Regions from separate parts of the Homo sapiens genome. Here region 1 is linked to region 2. Evidence: promoter capture Hi-C in human tissues and cell types (Jung and others, 2019). All regions are on one chromosome and are shown on one strand. Each heading gives the region's core, a stretch centred on a gene start or on the middle of the fragment in contact. The rest is flanking DNA. Distances are from core to core; before and after follow the strand shown. Region 1 overlaps MED15 (mediator complex subunit 15). Region 2 holds the start of PI4KA (phosphatidylinositol 4-kinase alpha).

The links. The method cuts DNA at HindIII sites, captures the fragments that hold promoters and counts their contacts. A contact is called where the count stands out against the background at its distance.
Region 1: a contact is called between a fragment that was not itself captured here and the fragment with the promoter of PI4KA in region 2, in 1 of the 25 tissues and cell types used here (spleen).

Annotation. Positions count from the first base shown.
Region 1 is chr22:20,530,428-20,534,789 of GRCh38, reverse strand. All of the region lies in intron 1 of MED15 (mediator complex subunit 15), which reads right to left. Among named protein-coding and RNA genes, the nearest start is that of MED15, 25 kb to the right of the region's middle. RefSeq lists an enhancer at 3,643-4,362. The HindIII fragment of the contact is 8,855 bases long and covers 1-4,362 here.
Region 2 is chr22:20,856,821-20,861,518 of GRCh38, reverse strand. It overlaps PI4KA (phosphatidylinositol 4-kinase alpha), which reads left to right and starts at 2,708. Exons shown (of 55, transcript NM_058004.4): 1 at 2,708-2,949. The coding sequence starts at 2,794. SNAP29 (synaptosome associated protein 29) reads right to left here and starts at 2,512. Exons shown (of 5, transcript NM_004782.4): 1 at 2,172-2,512. The coding sequence starts at 2,408. RefSeq lists an enhancer at 1,781-2,590 and silencers at 2,270-3,029, 3,050-3,099. The HindIII fragment of the contact is 12,507 bases long and covers 1-4,698 here.

The sequences.
Region 1 (4,362 bases), core at 229-2,728, 330 kb after region 2:
GGTCAGAGTCCTGGGGAAGCGAGGCATGGGTGGGCTGGGAGGACCCTGTACTCATGCTCTCAGGTTAGCATGGGGCAGGGTCTCCACACCCAGAGGCTGAGACGATAGCTGCTAGGCCCCAAGAAGTCAGTGAGCATTTCTGATAGAAGTGGCTGCACAGGCCTGTTTTCTGAAGGTTGCCTCATCTGTGCCCCTCAAGGCAGGTATGCCCTTCAAAGGCATACTTGTTCTTCCCACCTTCCTTTTTTCTTTTTCTTCTTTTGTTTTTTGAGACAATGTCTCACTCTCTCACAGGTGCAGCGCAGTGGGGCAAACACAGCTCACTGCAGCTTCAAACTCCTGGGCTCAAGTATCCTCTCACCTCAGCCTCCCAAATAGCTGGGACTACAGGCATGCGCCACCACGCCTGGCTAATTTTTTTATTTTTTACTTTTTTTGTAGAGACAGGGTCTTGCTTTGTTGCCCAGGCTGGTCTCAAACTCCTGGCCTTAAGTGATCCTCCACCTTGGCCTCCCAAAGCACTGGGACCAATAGGGAGACTCAGGGAAGAGCAGTAGAAACAGCAGGGGAGCATTTGCAGGCCAAGCAGGACGGCCTGGAGGCTGGCTGTGTAAGGAGTGGGGAGGCTGTGGGTGGCAGATGTGGCCAGGAGTCAGAGAGGAAGAAGGGTGCAGAAGAGTCTGGGGAGTGACAACCAGTTACACAGATGGGCTCTGTGCCCACCAGCAGCGATCAGAGAGCAAAGCCAGGCTTTGATACAAAAGCAGTCCTTTTGAGCTGCTACTGGCCGTTTTTGAGAGTGTCAGCAGACTGGCAGGCCCCAGACAGACACTGTCTTGGTGCAGCAGAGACACCTGGCACAGTCAGAGAGACAAGATCTAGAAACACAGCTTAGTGCAATAGCTCTGAGGTGGTGGGATGACCAGGTTGAAGAAATATGCTTGGTGAGCTGAAGGCAAGGTGGCACCATACACCAGGGGATGTACTGGCAGACGGGCCCTGTCCTGTCCTGGGTAATGTCACAGATGACATGGACACTGTGGGCACCGTCAGCTACTCAGAGCCTGAGGAGCATGGACCAAGCTGGAGGCCAGAAACAGGCAAGTCTTGACAGGCCAACACCAGGAAACCGAGTTGGGGTAAATGTCCAGTTCCACATGAGCTTCGGAGGGTCAGAGTGGGGCCAAGGAGCAAGGTGCTCCTCCGGCAAGGCGCTCCTCCAGCAAGGCTACCGCTCAGAACAGCAGCACTGTGCCATGTCACTCCCACATCTCTCCCACAGCATCCACCCAGGGAGGCCCAGCAGGTTTGGTGGCCAGTAACAGACCCTGTGTGGTTTTGCAGTTCTGACAACTGTATTTTTGAAAATGTCTTTGCTCCTGTTTCTAGTTTGAAGATCAAGTGTCACAAAATAGAGACAAAGCGAAAAAGAACCCAGGAACTCTGCAGCTAATCCCCCACACTTCCCTGCAGATGCCTGCCCTTTCCTCTCCAGCTGGCCTGGCGCTTTTCAGAGGCATCCCCTGCCTGGACATTGACTCCAGGAGGGTACCCATTTCACACTCCTGCTGAGGTCAAGTCCCCTTCCTTCCTCCCTTAGACCTAACACACCCGCTGCGGGAGGCTGCAGGCAGGACCCAGGCCCACCTTCAGAACAGCACTGGCTGCTCCCAAAGCCCCCTTCTGATCTCCCTGAGCTGGGCTCTGCTGCCATCCCCAGCATGCCTTCCTGAGCAGCCAGACCCGAATGGCTACTCCTCAGTCTCTGTCTCCTGAAAACAAAACCCTTCGAGCCACTGTCACGAAATGAAAGGAAACTATCACACAAGGAGACAGCCCCCAACATGGAGTAAGGAGCACAGCCTGAGACAAAGAACAGAGAACCCACATGTCACAGTGAGCTCTTCCCCCACACAAGCAAGCCGGGAAGACGAGGGCCTGTCCAGCCAGAGGAGGACAAAGAGCAGACTGGTGTCAGCTCACAAGGGAAGACCCTTGATGGCTGTCCTGCCACAGTCCTGTCCAACATAAGCAACAGGTTCACAAACAGTACAGGCCTATGAGGCGGCCACCAAAGAACCCAAGGCTGCCTGGGTGGTGCTCGCTCTAGCTGAGGAAGGGGGCTGGGGGCCACTCCCTGGTTGCGACCAGCCAGACCTCTGAACACAAGGACTGTTACCGGCTCAGAGCACACAGTCCCTTGCTGTGAACTGGGCTCCAATGCTCTGCCTTTGGCCATGGTCTAGCTGGTTGCCATAGCTATGTCTGTGTACTCAGTCAGGGTTCAACTGGTATCTAGCTTAGACTGAAGCCTCCCAGGGGACCGATTCATCATTACAGGCCCTTGGAGCTCCCCCACTAAGGGGTCTGAGGATGTCCTTACTGTCCAGAACTGTTCCCAGAACACAGTGTGTCTTAATGGCATTGCCCGACCCTGCCTGAGCAGCCAGCAGGGATACATCAAGAAAAGCTCTTCGTGTCTTCATCTCCCAGCACCAAGTGCCCATCCCAGAAACTTGGGAACTCCCTTCACTTTCTGACTGCCACCTTTAATTCTCCAAAGTTCAAATCTTTGCCCCAACTCCCACTGCATCTGTGGCAATTCCTCCCAAAGGGCCTCTGTCTCCCGTTCCCATTCCTACCCCCACGCCCTCGCCAGCTCCCCAGGTCACATGACTGCCAGTGAGCAACTGCCACTGAGTGTGGGAAGCAACCCAGGCCCCTGCTTGCTTTGAGCCTCGCTCCTCACCAGCAGAGCAGGCAGCCTGTCCAGGAGCCCACTGAGGAGCCTGCTCCTGCGCCTGCCCCACACACTCTCCCCAGGGCCCCAGGGATGATGACCTACTACCTGGCACATTGCCTGACTATCCCATCAGGCCTGTTAGGGCCTCCCACCCTGCTTCCACCCAGGCACCCCTGCTGTCGGCTGCACAGAAACCCTGTAGCCACCTCACCCATGTCTGTGGCACTTCCTGGAGGAATCTCTGGTTTCTGTGTGCCAGCCCCACTATACTAAGAACACCCTGAGAGCAGAGACAACGGCGTCCACTTTTGTGTGCAGTGGGCAGTCATCACTGCCAGGCACAATAACTGGCTCTTTTTAACACAAGGAGTGGTACTGTCATGCATTTTGATGGGACACGACGTGCAGAACGGAGAATCAGCGTGGCAGCCATGGGGGAATCCAGGCCTCAAACAGGCACGTCCTGGCAGTGGAGGCCAGGGTGCCTGGGAGAAGGCGTGTGCTGGGGCAGGCAGCTGGGCCTGGCAGGAAGCAGACAGGGGAGGAGGGACCTGGGCTCAAATTCCAACCTAGCCACTCACCAGCTCTGGGTCTTGGGAGAGGCACTCCCTCCCCTAAAGCGTAACCTCTTCATAAAGGAGGGGCTCTGAGAGGCTGTGGCCAGGACGAAGGTGCACAGACAGGGCCAGGCAGTGAGGAGAGGCCCACTGTTGGCCTGGTCTGCAGGGCTTCTGCCCAGCATGGGCCTGTTGTTCCTCACCTCCTTCCTATTCCAAATTGAGAAACTGGCAACAGGAGTCCAGTCCCAGTCCTTGTAATCTGAATGAGACTAAGATAAAGCAAAAAACTGGCAAACTGAGCTTCCTAGGGAAGGAGCACAGGGCATCAAACTTAAAGCCTGCTAAGGCCAGGGAGGCCTGAGGCAAGCTGCCCCGGTCTGCCCTCAACCCATCTGGCAGCGCCTCCCTATCCTTCCTTTGCACAAAGGGTGGGGACAGTGCCGACCTCACGGGTAGCCCTGAGGATGATAGTAGTTAATATTATAAGGCACTGGACATACAGGAAGTGCTAGGTATGCGTTAAAGAAATAAGTCAGGCAACAACCTGCCCAAATGTGCAATAGGATGCATCCCAAAACACCTCCGCCATGTGTTGAGGTTATTGTTGCCCCCTCCTCAGCAGACGATGGCCCAATGAGCATGTGCAGCTCCCTCAGGCAGAGCCACCCTCCCATTGGAGCTCTGAGTCACCTGCAGTGTACCCTGAGGCCAGCTCCACCGCCCGCAAGAAGGACACTCACACAGGCATGTTGATGAGGCATGAACTGGCCTCCCCACCCCAACTCCCGCTCTGCTCTGCTCCACGCCCTGACTCTTCCTTCCACAACCGCCCTGGTTCCCACCAAGGACCCTCTCCCCTCTCAGTGAGGCCTCTCCCCTGACCCCACCCTCTTTACCACTGCTCCCCCTGCCACACTGCCAGGCCCCCTTCCCTGGTCCAACTGCTTTCCCATTGCTGAATGAGGGCATGAATTCCCAGGACAGCCAGCTTCTCTGTCCTCTGCTGGTGTCTAAAGCAGGAAGGTGCGTTCCTCCCTGGGGCACAGATTCACCCTCCTG
Region 2 (4,698 bases), core at 1,459-3,958:
TTGCAGTGAGCCGAGATCACACCATCGCACTCCAGCCTGGGTGACAGAGTAAGACTTTGTCTCAAACAAAACAAAAATAAAAAACCAACAGTTAAACACAGGGAGGTGGGCTAGGTGCAGTGGCTCACGCCTATAATCCCAGGACTTTGGGAGGCCGAGGTGGTGGATCACGAGGTCAAGAGATCGAGACCATCCTGGCCAACATGGCAAAACCCCAACTCTATTAATACCAAAATTAGCTGGGTGTGGTAGTGCACGCCTTAGTCCCAGCTACTCAGGAGGCTGAGGCAGGAGAATCACTTGAACCCAGGAGGCGGAGGCTGTAGTGAGCCAAGTTGGTGCCACTGCACTCCAGTCTGGTGACAGAGCGAGAATCTGTCTCAAAAAAAAAAAAAAAAAACCACAGGGAGGTGGATCAATGAGGGATACATGAACAGAGAGAGGTGGGGAAGGGAATTAACCCAAGAAAACAGCAAGGGGAAATGATAGCGTGTTGCTCTGTCGCCCAAGCTGGAGTGCAGTGGTATGAACATGGCTCACTGCAACCTTGACATCCTGGGCTCAAGCGGTCCTCCTGCCTCAGCCTCCTCAGTAGCTGCACTCACATGTGTGTGCCACCATGCCTGGCTAATTTTTCAAATTTTGTAGAGACGCAGTTACCCCTGCTGGTCTCAAACTCCTGGGCTAAAATGATCTGCCTACCTCAGCCTTACAAATTGTTGGGATTACAGAAGTACAACCGCGCCTGGCTTATACATTTTTTTAAACCTTTTTTTTTCTCTGTCCAAACAAAACTGTTTCATTAGCAGGCTGAAGAGAGACTGTGGTGTACAATAAAGAATCATTCTCGACCGGTATGGTGGCTCACGCCTGTAATCCCAGCCCTTTGGGAGGCCAAAGCGGGCGGACTGCCTGAGGTCAGGAGTTCCAGACCAGCCTGGCCAACGGGGCAAAACCCTGTCTCCACTACAAATACAAAAAAAATTAGCCGGGTGTGGCGGCGCACCTGTAGTCCCAGCTACTCGGGAGGCTGAGGCAGGAGAATCGTCTGAATCCCGGAGGCGGAAGTTGCAGTGAGCCCAGATCATGCCACTGTACCCAAGCAAGGGCGACAGAGCGAGATTCCATCTCAAAAAAAAAAAAAAAAGAAAAAGAAAAAGACCCTCCAGGATCTCGGTCTGTTGCCCATGCTGGAGTGCAGCAGCACGATCTCAGCTAACTGCAACCTCTGCCTCCCGGGTACAAGCGATTCTCCTACCTCAGCCTCCTGAGTAGCTGCGACTACAGGCGCACCGCCACACCCGGCTAGTTTTTTTTTTTTTTTAATTTTAGTGGAGACAGGGTTTCACCATGTTGCCCAGGCGGGTCTCGAACTCCTGAGCTCAGGCGATCCGACGCCTAGGCCTCCCAAAGTGCTGGGATTACAGGCGTGAGTCACTGCGCTCGGCCAGAATAATTGTTATTGAAGGTACTACTCTCTGAAATCTAAGGATGGGAAGAACTGATGAAGATGAGTTGGAGCAACAAACTCTTAACCCGCACACTATTTGTCTAGGATTTGGGAAGTAAAGGTAAGACCCTGGACTCAATCAAACCCAGGCTTTGGTCAACTAGGCAGCTGTCTGGGCTGAAGGGACTTCAATACCTCTATTGGTTGGTTAGGTGGAGATGTCAATGATGCGGGAAGAACTCGTGGACCACCTGCCCTGATGCTTCAGGGTATCACCTGACACTCGCAGGCACATAGTCCTCTCTTTCTGGCTCACTCCGGAAGGAATGGCCAAAACCCTGTGCCAGATTTTGCACAGGAAATAATGTCGAAGAAACGGACTCTCCATTTCCCAAACCTAGGACCTGCTGTTCAGAATTTTTACTCACCTGGACAGAAAATAATCTGGCGTTTCCCCGTGAGCTAGGCGTAAGAAAAAAAAAATCAACGAAGCAGACTAATAGCTAAGGAAGATTTCTGGGGTAAACTGCCCTCTTCAAGTACTCCAGATGCACATACCTTTACATAGTTAACAGATTGTTACCACCATCGAGTCACTAAGGTGCAAGAATCTATGCTAGGCAACTTGAGAATTCTCAAAAGATTGTGAGCAAAACATTTCTCGTCTCCGTTTGACAGCACAGAGACCGGCGAGTCCACACCAGCCCTGCCCCAGGCTCACCTCGGAAGAGGCGACCCCAACCTTCTCGGACTCGTACATGAGGGCCAGGGACCTGCTGGTGCTGGCGGCCGTGGCCTCAGCCCTGCGGAGGACCTCCTGCCGCAAGTACTGCTGCCTGTCCGCGGGCGCGTCGGGCCCGTCGGGGAGGTCTCGGGCGTCCCTCCAAGGGGCCGGCCGGGCGCCTTCGTCCTCCCCGTCGTCGTCGAACGGATTGTAGCTTTTAGGGTAAGCTGACATGGTGCCGGCGCGGCTCTCGGTCTGGGAAACAGAAGGAGGAGCCCCACTGCCGCCGCCGTCCAGGGCCTCGCCCCGCCCGCCGACCCCGCGGTCGTCGCGCGAACTCCTTCCGCGCGTCGCGCGCAGGTGGCCCCGCCCTCGGAGCCGACCATCGCGCAGGTCGGCTGGGGGGGGCCCACATCCGGCGCGCGCAACCGCAGCCTACTGTCCATCCCCTCTCTCCCCTGCAGCGGTGGGCCCGCCCCGCAGCCACGCCCTATCTAGTGTCAGCAACTGAGAGGTCACGTGGCGGGAAAGCCGGATGCACCTACGCCTGCGCCCTGAGGTCGGGCGCTCGCGGGCCAGGAGCGGGGAGCCGGCGGGCAGCGCCGCGGCTCGTGAGGTGATGGCGGCGGCCCCGGCCCGGGGAGGCGGAGGCGGAGGCGGAGGCGGCGGCGGCTGCTCCGGCTCCGGCTCCAGCGCCTCGCGGGGCTTCTATTTCAACACGGTCCTGTCACTGGCCCGCTCCCTGGCGGTGCAGAGACCAGCATCCTTGGAGAAGGTAACGTCGGCGGGCTGGGCCGCGGGCTGACAGGAGGAGGGGCTGGGGTGACGAAGCGTGGAGGCGGGACGAGGGTCTGTGGGAGGCCGAGGCTGGGCTCGCCGGCAGCCTGTGCGGGAGGGGGCGCCTGAGCGGAGGGATCTAGCGGGGGAAGGAGGCCCTAGTGGGAGGGGCTGGTGAAGAGAGAGGGACCGTGGGGGAAGGGTCGGCGGGGCCTGCAGGGCCGCTGCAGGTGGGTGGTTGTGGGATGGGGGTGGGGGATGTGAGCTGCTGGCCCAGGGAGCATCTTGTGACATCGCGGAGGTGGAGGCTGGATCGTGGGCGGCTGTGCGGAGCAGTGGGATGAGCCGAGGACCAGGGGTCAAGACCTGGGGTTCTGCTTCCGATTTCACCTGCTTTTTATTCCGCGACCTTGGGAAGATGGCTTTCTTGTAAAATGGGGATGCTTTTATCTGCTTTGCCGGCTTCACCGGACTGTGGTGACCAGGAGACGAAACACTGTCTTGAAAGTGCTTTGTGACTGTAAACCAACTGCGCAGTGTTATTCTACGAGGCTGGGGGCGTTAGGTTGGGTAAAAGATTGTGCGTTTGCAGAAGGGACAGTGGCAGGGAAAGGAGAGTGAACTGTCAGTGGGCAGAGAAGTGAACTTGGAATTGCTTCAGAAGAGAAAGGTGAAGTCATGCCAGAGCAATCCTCATCTTGGGAGAAAGGTGAAAGGCAACTCAGTGGTGTGCCTTGAGATCTGGAAAGAGACAGATTTTAGAGTGGGACCTGAATTTGTTCCCTGCACTGGCACTTACTTACCATGTCCTCTTGGGTAAATTTAACTCTTAGAGCCTCTGTATCCTTATCTGTAAAATGAGGTTGTTCTTGAGAATTAAATGAGTTCTAGCATAAAGCATCTTGCACAGGTCAAGGCACAGAGTGGGTGAGCAGTAAATGTCAACTTTCTTTGCCCACCCGTGTGCGATGAGACTCAGCACAGTGTTTAGCTCTGAAAGGATGGAATTATTTTCCCACTCAACTTTTTGGCACATGGAGAGAGGATGTTTTCCGACAAGATAAGACAGTGGTGACCGGAGACCAGCCTGCTGCAGTTGGGAGTGGTTTTGTGGCTGTCTGCTGATGGATGAAGCTGAAAGGCTGTTTTAGGCACTTTTGGCAGAGTGACCTGGTCCTTGGCCTTGTCGGTTCTCATATTTGATTTTATCATGCACCTTCGGGGTGAGAAGGTCCCGGCAGATTGGTGCTAACCTGACTTCTAGCTAAAGAGGGAGTACAATGCAATGGAAAGGACATGAGTTTGGAAAATGGAACCTCTGAATTTAAATCCTGTATCACTTGCTTTCACTAGTGTGACTCTAGACAGGTCAGTTCCCTTCTCTGATACTTTGCTATCTTCTGTCAAATACAAGGTAGTACTTCATAGGAGTATTGTGAAGAGCAACAAAAAGGCACGTGGGTACCTAATGTATGAGCACTGTTATCATTAGATAGTCTGACTAATGGAGTGTAGTGCTGTTTTATTGAATCAAACTCATGCTAGCTAGTCAGCACATTCGCTTCTTAGCAGGAGAGCCAACAAATATATCTTATGACTGATTGCTGGATTCTGGGAGGAGAGAGAAGAGAATGCAGTGAATTGGATGATCTTTAAGAAGCTGGTCCTGCAGCTCCAGCAGTGGTAGCACCCTTTCCACTCAGTAACTCAGAAAAGGGCACCTTGAGCTCAATTTGCTTCTTCAGCC